Regions from separate parts of the Homo sapiens genome. Here region 2 is linked to region 1. The links are contacts of gene promoters, found by promoter capture Hi-C in human tissues and cell types (Jung and others, 2019). All regions are on one chromosome and are shown on one strand. Each heading gives the region's core, a stretch centred on a gene start or on the middle of the fragment in contact. The rest is flanking DNA. Distances are from core to core; before and after follow the strand shown.

Evidence for each region. The method cuts DNA at HindIII sites, captures the fragments that hold promoters and counts their contacts. A contact is called where the count stands out against the background at its distance.
Region 2: a contact is called between a fragment that was not itself captured here and the fragment with the promoter of OR11H6 in region 1, in 4 of the 25 tissues and cell types used here (lymphoblastoid cells, mesendoderm cells, spleen and 1 more).

The regions. Positions count from the first base shown.
Region 1 is chr14:20,220,899-20,228,221 of GRCh38, forward strand. It overlaps OR11H6 (olfactory receptor family 11 subfamily H member 6), which reads left to right and starts at 2,812. Exons shown (of 1, transcript NM_001004480.1): 1 at 2,812-3,804. The coding sequence starts at 2,812. The coding sequence ends at 3,804. The HindIII fragment of the contact is 13,960 bases long and covers 1-3,964 here.
Region 2 is chr14:20,132,347-20,139,669 of GRCh38, forward strand. It overlaps OR4N5 (olfactory receptor family 4 subfamily N member 5), which reads left to right and starts at 6,474. Exons shown (of 3, transcript NM_001004724.2): 1 at 6,474-6,544. The HindIII fragment of the contact is 5,982 bases long and covers 1-5,550 here.

The sequences.
Region 1 (7,323 bases), core at 1,562-4,061:
TTATCTAATTTATGCCAAGCAAAATTTGTTATCATGTCCCCTGTACTACAAAGATTTATTCAAGTTATTTCTAACTGGAGTAAATATCTTTTTTCAGACCCACAGCATGCAGTTGGACGTGCTGCAAAAATACACAGCTCAAGGAACCCCCAGCCTATGCACATGACTGTGCAGATATAGGTTGTAATCTTGATAGTTTTTATAAAACCTGAGTTCCAAAAGGGGAGGAATTTTATTTTGTATATTCACCATTATAACCCCAGAACTCAACACACTGCTAGCAATATAATAAATGGTGAATAAACATGTGTTAAATTAAATTCTTGAATAAACAAATAAATACATGAAATGCTACGATTTAAATTTAACATCCAACCTTTTTTTATTTTTTATTTCTTTTGTTTTAGAAACTTTTTTTTTATACTTTTAAGTTTTAGGGTACATGTGCACAACATGCAGGTTTGTTACATATGTATACATGTGCCATGTTGGTGTGCTGCTCCCATTAACTCATCATTTAACATTAGGTATATCTCCTAATGCTATCCCTCCCCCCTCCCCCCACCCCACGACAGGTCCTGGTGTGTGATGTTCCCCTTCCTGTGTCCATGTGTTCTCATTGTTCAATTCCCACCTATGAGTGAGAACATGCAGTGTTTGGTTTTTTTCCTTGCCGTAGTTTGCTGAGAATGATGGTTTCCAGCTACATCCATGTCCCTACAAAGGACATGAACTCATCATTTTTTATGGCTGCATAGTACTCCATGGTGTATATGTGCCACATTTTCTTAATCCAGTCTATCATTGTTGGACATTTGGGTTGGTTCCAAGTCTTTGCTACTGTGAATAGTGCCGCAATAAACATACATGTGCATGTGTCTTTATAGCAGCATGATTTATAGTCCTTTGGGTATATACCCAGTAATGGGATGGCTGGGTCAAATGGTATTTCTAGTTCTAGATCCCTGAGGAATCGCCACACTGACTTCCACAAGGGTTGAACTAGTTTACAGTCCCACCAACAGTGTAAAAGTGTTCCTATTTCTCCACATCCTCTCCAGCACCTGTTGTTTCCTGACTTTTTAATGATCGCCATTCTAACTGCCAACCGTTTTTTTAAATTGCAAGCCCAGTAATTATATTTTCCAAGAATGACATAGCATGTAGTGTGGGAAATACAAGCAGTTATGGAGAGTATATTTGAGAGTAATTACAACTGTCCTAAAAATTCTGATGCATGTGATCATGATAATTATTATTCATTAAACTGAACTGCTTGGACAAAATTTACATTTTCCTAAAAATCATGTTTATTAGAGAAATTGTTGTATTATTCTTAAAATATTGTTAACATGAATATCCAAAGTTACCTCGGCAATAAAACATTTATGCTTTTGGGTTTGCTCCAGGTTTGATCAAGTACTGAAAGGCAGGCCTCTCGCTCTCTGTGGATCATATAAATGATGTAAAGATGGAATTTTGTGAGTATCTTAACAGTGACGCTAATAATACAATAAATTATCCTAATTTTAAAGTCATTATATTGCTAAATTTAAAATATTGATAGTGGCTTACCCAGCCAAATATTCTGAACTTTAACAAGGATATTTGAGGACACAGAAATAAGCCTGCTGGACCAATAGTTTCTAGAAAATTGTTAGCAAAATATCTAAGTTATTTATCTTGTCTCAACTCCTGATTTAGAAAATATCAGAAAGATCTTTCTGTTCTCTGCACATCCTGAGGTGACTCTTTTATTCATTATTTAATTTATGGAAAAGCAAGATAATGAAGGGACAAATTATAAAGTTTAGGACTTAATTTCTAGCAAAAATAAAGGCACATGGCTTTATTACTAGAGAAATTGATTTACCCAACAGCAAGCTCCCTCAAGAGCTAAGTCATGATGTAGAATAGTACAATTTGTTGGAGAAGGAGGCTGACAAGCAGGGAAAATGGTGGCCTGCCAAAGAAGTCATAGGTAAGGGACATAACAGCTGCCTTCAGTTATTTAAGACCTCACTACCACCATCATGGGAGAGGAATTAGACTTATTTTGTGTAGTTTCAACAAAGTCAAAGTTTACCTGCTGACTTGGGGAGTACCAAGATCAATGGGTAAAAGTAATAAAGGATACAAAGTTTGCTCACCATAAAGAAGGGCTTTGAGAGAACTAGAGCTCCTCACGAGAAAAAGGGGCTGGATTATTCAGCAAATCCAGATGCCACCAGGGAGAATGTGATCTGGGGGGAACTAGATTTGTAGCTTTCAGACCATTTTACAGATTCCTAAGGGTTCTGCAGCACCTCCCTGAGAGTAGCAAAAGGAAGGGAGCTGAAGACTCCCCAAAGTTTAATTCCTATCTGCTTTTTATTGGACTTCTACATATGAGGCTCTAAGAAGGCAATTTTAATATAGCAACTATTCTTGCTTCAGATTTATACTCAATTTTGCTTTAAAGTAAAAGAATATATCCAAAGTTTATATTTATATGTAGAGTATCTAAGGGGCAGTGATTTTACCATTAAAGATGAAACATTACTGAGACTCAGGGTTATAGAAAATTTGAAGTGAAACATGATTTGTTCCAAACCAATCTCCAAATAGGCCAGTGTATCTGGGCGTTACTGGCTTTGTACATATGTTTAAGTGAACCCTTCTAATCTCTTTGAACTTCAATTACCCTGTCTGTGAAAGAGAAGGGTAAAGAATACCTCCTCGCAGCTCAAAGAGTCATTAGGAAGACCAAATGAGATAATGTATGTAAAAATACTTAGTACATCATCCAGCATGAGTTAGCAAAATCTCCAAATGTTCTTTATTATTCATTCTTTGGTTACTTCTGTTTTTCTAACAGCTTTGGGACCCCAGAACAGAACAATGCATTTTGTGACTGAGTTTGTCCTCCTGGGTTTCCATGGTCAAAGGGAGATGCAGAGCTGCTTCTTCTCATTCATCCTGGTTCTCTATCTCCTGACACTGCTAGGGAATGGAGCTATTGTCTGTGCAGTGAAATTGGACAGGCGGCTCCACACACCCATGTACATCCTTCTGGGAAACTTTGCCTTTCTAGAGATCTGGTACATTTCCTCCACTGTCCCAAACATGCTAGTCAATATCCTCTCTGAGATTAAAACCATCTCCTTCTCTGGTTGCTTCCTGCAATTCTATTTCTTTTTTTCACTGGGTACAACAGAGTGTTTCTTTTTATCAGTTATGGCTTATGATCGGTACCTGGCCATCTGTCGTCCATTACACTACCCCTCCATCATGACTGGGAAGTTCTGTATAATTCTGGTCTGTGTATGCTGGGTAGGCGGATTTCTCTGCTATCCAGTCCCTATTGTTCTTATCTCCCAACTTCCCTTCTGTGGGCCCAACATCATTGACCACTTGGTGTGTGACCCAGGCCCATTGTTTGCACTGGCCTGCATCTCTGCTCCTTCCACTGAGCTTATCTGTTACACCTTCAACTCGATGATTATCTTTGGGCCCTTCCTCTCCATCTTGGGATCTTACACTCTGGTCATCAGAGCTGTGCTTTGTATTCCCTCTGGTGCTGGTCGAACTAAAGCTTTCTCCACATGTGGGTCCCACCTAATGGTGGTGTCTCTATTCTATGGAACCCTTATGGTGATGTATGTGAGCCCAACATCAGGGAACCCAGCAGGAATGCAGAAGATCATCACTCTGGTATACACAGCAATGACTCCATTCTTAAATCCCCTTATCTATAGTCTTCGAAACAAAGACATGAAAGATGCTCTAAAGAGAGTCCTGGGGTTAACAGTTAGCCAAAACTGAGATATCTTTGAAAAAGAAGCCAAATTGGCCACTTCTGACCTTAATTTTTTATAACTATAGAGAGTAGCTTCAGTAGTATGTTCTGGCTCACACTCAGGTAGACAGACTTATCTTTCACAGTTCCTTAGCAGTTAAATTCAGCTCATTAATGATAAATGCCAATGCTCAATAAAACATTTTAAACATATGTGGCCTCACTGAGTAGTTATGTGGTGGGTGGGTGTATATATACGTATATTATTTTTCTGTGATGTATCTTTGCTAGTTTTAATCTTAGCTGACAGAAGAAATCAATTGCATGTGTACTGAAACCTTTCAAAAGAGTGAGATCTGGCTGGGCACGGTGGCTCACGACTGTAATCCCAGCACTTTGGGAGGCCAAAGCGGGAGGATCACCTGAGATCAGGAATTCGAGACCAGCCTGGGCAATATGATGAAACCCTGTCTCTACTAAAAATACAAAAATTAGCTGGGCGTGATGGCACACACCTGTAATCCCAGCTACTCAGGAGGCTGAGGAATGAGAATTGCTTGAACCTGGGAGGCTAAGCTTGCAGTGAGCTGATATCACGCCACTGCCCCCTAGCCTGCATGATAGAGCAAGACTGCATCTTAAAAAAAAAAAAAAAAAAAAAAAAAAAAAAAGTGAGATATTTTCAATTCAGAAAATATACATATTTTTGTTTGTTTGTTTGTTTGTTTGTTTCTGAGACGAAGTTTCGCTCTTGTTGCCCAGGCTGGAGTGCAGTGGCACAGTCTTGGCTCACTGCAATCTCCGCCTCCCGGCTTCAAGTGATCCTCCTGCCTCAGCCTCCCAAGTAGCTGGGATTACAGGTGCCCACCGCCACACCTGGCTAATTGTATTTTTAGTAGAGATGGGGTCATTTTTGTATTTTTAGTAGAGATGGGGTTTCACCATGTTGGCCAAGCTGGTCTCGAACTCCTGACCTCAAGTGATCCACCCCCCTACCCTTGACCTCCTAAAGTGCTGGGATTACAGGCGTGAGCCACCACACCCGGCCAGAAAATAAATATTCTTAAAGAATATTTGTGTGTCAAGAGGCCACCAGAAAAAAACATAGTAATAGACATCTTCCATTATTTGAGGTTGTCTTTCACACCAAGAACAGAGTATGCTTTAAACCTCTATGCTTCATACCTCTATCCCTTAGACATAAAAACCAAACTCTTTGCCATTCAAGGCCTTCACTCAACACACTGCTCCCTTCAGTTTTCTCTCCTAGTGATCCACTGTACAAGTCTTGCATTTCATGATGATCAGTCCTCAAACATATTTAGTCCCAACTGGGTATCTTTACTCACAGTACTTCCTCTCTAAATTAGTCATGACAACCCCAATATTATTTATACTAGGAATGATGCCCTAAACATATTTTTATTTGTACCCAGCAGTTTTCATGTCAACCACAGAGCAACAGGTGCCTCTCAGAGGCTGTAGGGCAAAGTCTAAGTTAGAAAAATATTCAGAGAAAATTATGTCAAGAACAAATTTCATTTTAGTATCCAAACTCTAGGCTGAAACAAAAAGGCAATCAACTAAGAGTTGAATCTACTTAAAATGAAAACACACCTTTTAGTTATGGCTACCCCACAATGAAATCAGGTGGGGCAAGGAAGATGGGCCTGCCGGTGCTAGGTGATGTAATGCTCCCAAACCGTGTTTGTCAAATCTTTCCACCAAAGCATGTTTAGCAAGAGTGGTCAGAGAACATGGGGTATTGGGGGATAATATTTCTTTAAATTCAAAATTGTATCTCAAAAATTGTCATAAATTATACTTCCTAATTCATAGTACATACATATTTGGTGTGATATAAAATTATCTTTCTAGGTAAAATTGGCCCCTCAGGAAGACATTTAATCTGGGGCTTTTACGTATCCTATAGCACATGCTGTTTGAGCACAACTCAAGGAGACCATGGGGTTTCCTCAGAGTTAATATAACATGTTATTTTTAATAATCCCTACAGGAAATGTTAACAAAAATATCAATTAAACCCCCAGGCAAGATGTATGAAGATCCCTAGGGACAGCACAGAAAGTTACAGAATCACAAGAACATGAAGGGAGACCTGAGAATTCTCAACAGTGCCTCAAATGAGGCATAAATTAAGACCAACACATAGTTCAACACCCTCAGTGAGAAACAAGCCACTAGACTCTTAGGGTACAAGAGAAGTGAAATAAGCCACTGGTGAAGCTCTGACACAGGACTTCCATATTGGAGCCAGTGAAGGAGAGAATCCGTGTGGCCTCCCTGCAGGCTTTCTCAGGGATGACCTAGGAAAGCTTCCTGGTATGTAGGAGAGGTATTCTTCGTTGAGCGTTGCTGCTGTTATACACGACAGATGGACTACTCACCTATACATTTCTTCATTCAACATGCTTCAGAGATTGAGTATCAAAGAATATTGGTCTATCTTTCAGCTCAAAAACCAAAAGAAAAAAAATCCCTCAGAGTGTTGAGATCACCATGCAATTCACACTTTCCAAAAGAAGTACACTAATCATCCACAGGTCTTCTCCTTCTCAGGAAGTGCCTGAGGCACCAGGAATGCTATGACGTTTGTAGAGATTTTGAGCTTAACAGTATGGAACTAGCTTTATCCACTGGGACTAAAACCAAAAGAAAATTGGAATTTTTTTTAATCTTCTCTCTGTTTTCCTCTCTCTGTCCCTTTCATTACTCACTTTGCACCTTCAGGAGAAGTGACATTTAAAAAAAAAGAAAAGATAAAAATAAAATCAATGTTTTTGTGGACTAAGAACTCACATAGATTTAGTGGTGAATATATTAGGAACTGTTTCTTACAAATATGTTGGAAATTATCTGTGAAATTTATTTACCATGCTTTCCCTGTGGCTAATTGTTTTTCTGCAAGGTTTTTGTTTGTTTGTTGTTTTTAATGTCAATGAAAGTAGTCTAAGCTCAAAGAAGCAGCTCGGTCTTGTGCATTTTGATTTTGGGTCAAAGTCTGTGAATCTGAGTTCAAAAACATTGTTGCTCCTTCTCTGTTCCAAGCATAAGTGGCTGCTCCCTGCATCACTGCTTTCTCATCTTGTTGAGGAGAGAGGTTTCTTGCTCGGAAAGGAGAATGTATAGAGGACCCATAGTGGGGAGCCATTCTTTTATGATATCTTACAAAAATGACCATCGATGCAGGTTTAGTTTAGTTCTTCATAATCATCCTAGTTTAAAAAATTAAAAATCACTGATCCCCATCTTGCAGTTTCTTTCTCTTTTTGGCTTCTTGTCCACCAAACCACAACCTTTTGCAAAACCAGCTCTATGAAAAGGTCTATGTTTCCTTCTAGATGGGTAGATTCATAGTTCACCTTGTGCATTACTAACTGCAACAGCTGCATGATCATAAATATATTTCTTATTTAATATAACCTCACTGAATAGGAGGGTTTTTTCTATTTGATTATGTTCAGTGAGTACTGTAAATATATATGCATACAGACAAACACACTATGTATATATGTGTGTGTGTA
Region 2 (7,323 bases), core at 1,310-3,809, 89 kb before region 1:
TAATAATAGCCATTTTGGTGGTGTGAGATGGTATTTCATTGGGGTTTTGATTTGCATTTCTCTGATGATTAGTGATGTTGAGTACATTTTCATATGTTTGTTGGCTGCATGTATGTCTTCTTTTGAGAAGTATCTGTTCATATCCTTTGCCCACTTTTTTAATGAGGTTGTTTGGTTTTTGCTTGTTACGTTAAGTTTCTTATAGATTCTGGATATTATACCTTTGTCAAATGCATAGCTTGTGAATATTTTCTTCCATTCTGTAAGTTATTTGTTCTTGATATTTTCTTCTGCTGTAGAAGCTCTTTAGTTTAATTGGGTCTCACTTGCCAGTTTTTATTCTTATTGCAATTGCGTTGTGGATGTCATCATAAATTTTTCCTAAGATCAATGTCCAGAATAATATTTAATAGGTTTCCTTCTAGGATTGTAATAGTTTTAGGCCTTACATGTAAGTTTTTCCTTTATCTTGAGTTAATTTTTGTATATACTGAAAGGAAGGTGATGCGGTTTGACTGTGTCTCCACCCAAAACTCATCTTACGTTGTAGCTCCAATCAGAAATAGGAACGCTTTTACGCTGTTGGTGGGAGTGTAAATTAGTTCAACCATTGTGGAAGACAGTGTGATGATTCCTCAGGGATCTAGAACCAGAAATACTATTTGACCCAGCAATCCCATTACTGGGTATATACCCAAAGGATTACAAATCATTCTACTATAAAGACACATGTCCATGTATGTTTACTGCAGCACTATTTACAGTAACAAAGACTTGGAACCAACCCAAATGCCCATCAATGATAGACTGAAAGAAAATGTGGCACATATACACCATGGAATACCATGCAGCCATAAAAAGAATGAGTTCATGTCCTTTGCAGGGACATGGATGAAGCTGGAAACCATCATTCTCAGCAAACTAACACAAGAACAGAAAACCAAACACTGTATATTCTCACTCATAAGTGGGAGTTGAACAATGAGAATACATGGACACAGGGAGGGGAACATCACACACTGGGGCCTGTTGGGGGTTGGCAGGGAAGGGGAGAGAGAGCATTAGGACAAATGCCTAATTCATGCAGGGCTTAAAACATAGATGATGGGTTGATGAGTGCAGCAAACCACCGTGGCACTTGTATACCTGTGTAACAAACCTGCACATTCTGCACATGTATCCCAGAACTTAAAGTATAATAAATTTTAAAAAAAAACCTATAGAAAGCTTTTTTATGGGCCAGGCCTGGGAGCCTGGCCTGACTTCCCAGGCTCAGGTGATCCTCCTACCTCAGCCTACAAAGTAGCTGCACCACGGTGCCTGGTTAACTTTTTGTATTTTTAGTAGATATGAGGTTTAACCATGTTGCCCAGGCTAGACTCAAACTCCTGGGCTCAAGACATCCACCCAGCTCAGCCTCCCAAAGTGCTGGGATTACAAACATGAGGCACCGTGCCCGGCCCATAATAAATAAATAAATACATAAATACATAAATAAATAAATTGTAGCTCCCATCATTCCCATGTGTTAGAGGAGGGACTGGTGGAAGATAATTGAATCTTGGGGGTCGGTCTTTCCCATGCTTTTCTCATGATAGTGAATAAATCTCATGAGATCTGATGGTTTTATAAAGGAGAGTTCTCTTGTATACACTCTCTTGCCTGCTGCCATGTAAGACATGACTTTGCTCCTCTTTTGCCTTCTGCCATGATTGTGAAGCCTCGCAAGCCATGTGGAACTGAGTCAATTAAACCTCTTTTATTCATAAATTACCCAGCTTCAGGTATGTCTTTATTAGTAGAGTGAGAACAGACTAATACAGAAGGGGTCCAGTTTCAGTCTTCTGCAGATGGCTAGCCAGTTATCTCAGTACTGTTTGTTGAATAGGGAGTCCTCTTCCCACTGCTTGCTTTTGTCAACTTTGTCAAAAATCAGATGGTTGTATGTGTGAGGCTTTACTTCTGAGTTCTCTATCCTATTTCATTGGTCTATGTGTCTGTTTTTGCATAGTATCATGCCTTTTGGCTACTTTAGCCTTGTAGTATAGTAGTCAGGTAATGTGATGCCTCCAGCTTTGTTCTTTTTGCTTAGAATTGCTTTAGCTATTCAGGATCTTTTTTGTTCCATATCAATTTTAGGATTTTTTTCTAATTTTGTGTAGAATGGCATTGGTAATTTGATAGTAACAGCATTGAATCTGTACATTACTTTGAGCAGTATGACCATTTTAACAATATTGATTCTTCCAAACAATGAGCATGGAATGTTTTCCCAGTTGTTTCTGTAGGCTATGATTTCTTTCAATAGTGTTTTGTAGTTCCTTGTAGGGATATTTCACCTCCTTGGTTAGATATGCTTTTACATGTTGTTGGGTTGTGTGTGTGTGTGTGTGTGTGTGTGTGTGTGTGTGTGTGCAGAGCTATTGTAAATGAGATTGCATTCTTGATTTGTCTCTCAACCTGAATGTTAGTGCTGTATAGAAATGCTGCTGATTCTGGTATATTTATCATTTATCAGTCCTTGGAGCCTTTTAGTGGAGTTAGAGTTTTCTATGTTTAGTGTTATATAATCACCAAACAAAGGTAATTTGATATTTTATTTTTTTATTTGGATGTAATTTATTTCTTTCTCTTGCCTGATGGCTCTGGCTCAGTTTCCCAGCACTATGTTGAATAGGAATGATGAGAATAGACATCCTTGTCTTGTTCCATTTCTCAAGGGGAATGCTTCCAGCTTTTTCCCATTCAGTAAGATGTTGGCAGTGGGTATGACATAAATGGATCTTATTATTTTGAGGTATGTTCCTTCTATAAATGCCTAGTTTCTTGAGTGTTTTTCTCATGAACCAATGATGAACTGTATCAAAAGCTTTTTCTGTGTCATTAAGATGATTATACCATTTTTGTTTTTAATTCTGTTTATATGGTGAATCACAGTTATTGATTTGCCTATGTTGAACCCACCCTGCATCCCAAGAATATGCAAATAAGTATAGATGTTAGAGAACAGCCCATAGCTAGTCCTTTAATTTGTATTGCTGCCTCCAAATTAGCCAGTCAACCTGCCTGTAAAACAAAGATTCCCCCAATTCTCTAAGTTTTATCAATGTGATTTTAAATTTGGGTGGGTTTCTCCTCTACTTTTTTTTAAATTACTGATTACCATCTGTGTTCAATATCAGTAATTTACCATTAAATAAAATAAAATTTTTAATCAAACATCATGTTACACTATCAAGAACTGACTTGTCTGAAACACTGGAATCTATTTGGCACCTATTTGTGCCTTGTTTGCTATCCTGAGCAAAATATGACTGTTTGCTATTAGGTTTTGTAAACATTGATACAATTTATTTTTCAAAATAAACTAGTGATACTATTTCTTAAAGTACAAACTAAAATCTCATTTTACTAAAATTAATAACATGAAACATACAAAGAAGAAAATGAAAACCATCCCAGAGAAAGAGGTTTTCATTACCAGGATTTAGAGAGGTATTACCTATAAGGTTCTCACTGAGTAGCAATCTAGTTGCTGGAATGTCAACTCCACTGGCATGTCAAATCCCTGAGACCAAGGACCTTTAATAATCAGTCCCTAATTGCTTACCTATGTAGTAAGCTTTCCAAATGAAAAACACCCAAAACTTTTTGTAAAGTAAGGAAATACATTTTCAATTTTGTAGATGACAAAACATCATAGGACTGTCACTCATACATTTCTCCAGAAAATAATTAACTAGCATTTTTAAAATGGAAGTGGCACTGGGTCAAAACCTACAAATTTTTCAGGCAAGAAAATATAACTCAGTGGCTTTATGTCTGAGAAAACTGCCACTCAAATTAAAGGATTATAAACAAATATTTTTAATAGAATAGCTCAGCATGTATTTTTTTTCTAAAGAATCTCTTTGAATAAATTGAGAATAAACTAATTGTGGTAGGTGCAAAAAAAGTGGCCTCATTTCTACTTTTTAAAAATGCTTAACCATGCAAATATATTTCCTATGTGAAAATTAAATGTACCTTTAAAAAAGCATAGTTTTTTTCCAATCACCACCTTATCTTGTTTGGGTCTTCATAATGTTAATAAATTACACTTCCATACATAGCTATTTCATCTAAAATCTTAGGAGTTTTTAAGACATCGTGTCTATCAGCAAGTCTAAATGTCTCCACCATCAAAATACATGTCAAGTTCTCTGAATTCTTCTTACTACGGTCTCCTCCTCCCACTCTCCACCAGGCAAAGTTACCAACATCATCTTTTGTACTTGGTACTGCAACATCTTCAAACTGTTCTCCTTGCTCCTATACTTGCCTCCCTCAAACCCATTCTCCACACAATAGCCAGAACGACCTGAAGATTACAATTGTTGACATTATAATTACACACTGAGAATAACCTCCAAATGCCATGAGCTGGATAACATCTGCCTACCTCTCTAATGTTGCCTTATACTTTTCCTTCTTATGCTCACCATTTCCTCATCATGATGGTCTCCTTTCTGTGCCTTACTGTACCAGCTCAATCCTCTTCCACAGTCTCCATTCTCGTTCTTCACATTGCCTGAAATGCCCTACCCTAGTCATTCAAACCTCAGCTTAACTTTCAGCTCCTCAGGGATAACTTTTCTAACTACTCAATCTAAAATAACAGCACCACCCCCCGCCCTCATTCACCCTCCAACACATCCCTCTGTTATATTCTTTCATTCTCCCACATTTTACTGTCTTTTTTGTTGTTGTTGTTGTTCTTTGTCTGGCTCCCTCCACTGGAATGTCAAATCCCTGAGACCGAGGACCTTGTATATAATAACCAGTGCCTAATCACTTACCTATGTAATAAGTTTTCCAAATGATAAACACCTAAAACCTTTTGTAAAGTAAGGAAATATATTTTCAGTTTTTTAGATGACAAAACATCGGAGGAAGTTTTTGACATTTTCTCAAAAAACAGAACCATCATGGTTGGAACCAGGACTGCAAACTTGTCTTTTGAGCTCCAGTCTTGTGCTAGTTTCACCACATTTGGATGCCTTGTTTAGAAAGCTAGTTCAGGCCACTCTGAGATACATCTTTTAAAACACACAGACATTCACACAAACATACATCTTTCTTTTTAATAGTATAAAATTGCCTAAGATGAAAAAGCATTCTCAGCAGAGGGGAAAGGTCTATTTTGCACTAGTTAATATCTCAGTTAAAATATCTTCTTCTAACTAATTCTAAAGCATTGTTGTCAATATTGAGAAGTGACATCCCTGGGAAGTCCCTTAATTGCATAAAACAAAACTAAAGTGAAAAATAAAAAACAAAAACAAAACAAAATAATTTGCATTCTCAGAAATATCTTTACCACTCTATCTTTCTCTCTCCATCCATTCCCTTCTCTTATCCTGTCTTTTTTTTTTTCTAAACCTGTGTTTACGGCTTTGTGGTACAAGCATCTCTGTGGGCATTGTTTCTCTTTCTATCCATCTTTTCTCCTATTTTTTTGTGTATGCTTTTTCTCTTTTTTGCCTCTGTTCTCTCTCTTGCAATTATCTTGTATTTCTAACTTTGTATCTTTCTGGGACTGTATTATACTGCTATGCTTTCACCCAAGGAAAATGGTATATGTTAGAAGTTGCAGCACTGATCATAATAGGAAAGAAACCTGCTAAAATGTTATCTACCTCTCTTCATCTCTGTCCACTTTTAAACATCTCTGACTGCATCTCTGGCTGAGCTGGGCATAAACATGAATGAAAGCATACTTGACTGTGTATTGAATTTGCTTTATTAAATTTAAGTTTGGTATTTTAATTTTAATGTGACTCTGAGGAATGGCATCTTTCTTTATAATGTGTTACAAAAAAAACTTACATTGATTTTTTTCTTGTATGATTAGATATTTTTATGTTATATTATTTCATTAAAAACCAGAAAGCTCATTATCCTATAGCAGGGCTTAGGAACCATATATTCAAAAAAACCAATAATACAATAGAGTATTTCTTCTTTTACTTGAGGGGCACTCCCCTGGAGGAACTGGTCTACAAGATGCATAAAGTTCTTTTTATTTAAAGACAAACTTTGAAATGATAATAATTTAGATATACTGAGTTAAATGAAGCATTATTAACATTGAATTAATCATTAATCATTTTGCCTAATAAGTGTATGGGACATTCCATTATCACTGCCACTGATAAAATACCAAATTCAAAACCCTAACATGATTCAATGGGGTATTCACTGGCATGTGTTTTGAATATTTAATCTTTAAAATGTTCTTGTCTCTTTCTTTGTCTAATTCTAATTGGCAGTCTAATAATTCCCATTGGTAGAACTCTGCAGAATTCAGGTAGCGGTAAAACCCCAAAGTACATTCTCTATTGCATTAATTGTATTACAAATGAATAGAGATTTCAGAATTTATAATATTCCAACATGAGAATATATATTTAAGCACAAATTCTGAAATAATTAGCTAATCTCCCTTTTATCAGACAGAAAAGAATAGCCACTTGTTTGAGAGTAGCATTTGGCTCCCGGCAAGGTAAAATTTTTTATCATTCTTTATATTTAAATTAAATAGAGAAAAAGAAAAAAAAAGAAAAATTATACTATTTGTCTTGGTTATCTGCTGCCTTGAAATTTATGAGAACAGAATTCTGCTGCAGAAACAGAGTAAGGGTGAGTTGTAAATTCAGGTGTTCAGCACTTTTCTCAAATATACCTGTTTCTCAAATAAACCTCCTATTATCTAATACTTAGTACTATTTTAAAGGTGCTAAAATTTTTAATTCTACTATTGTTTTAAAAATAAAAATACCAATTGATTATGAAGATTCACCACCTGGATTTCAATTTGTATATAATACAAATGACTGATTTCATCTTTATCCTAAACCAAAGGTAAAGGGAGGAAGAGTGAAGGAATCACAATCAGTCAAAAAGGGCAGGCTGAGTCTCAGAGACAAACTTCATTGACTTCACAAGTTTGGAAACCTCTGGTTCCACACTCAGTTACATGTGTTTCCCCATCTGCACATGGTCCTTACATCCAGCAATATAAGGCTCAGAGTTAGCAATCCTAAAACAAGAAAGACATGATTCTCAAACATGTCTGAATTAGATAAGAAAACCTTTACTGAGACCCTTCCTAGAACCTCCACAGTTTCTTACTCTGAAATCCACTTAGATTCAAGCTGTTATCATATCCCTTGGAATTAATCCCAGGGCAGTGACAAAAGATCTATTGACATGGTATCCATTTTTTGCTAGAACGTATTTATCACTGAATGCTTCCTCTCTTCATTTACACAGATGTGGATT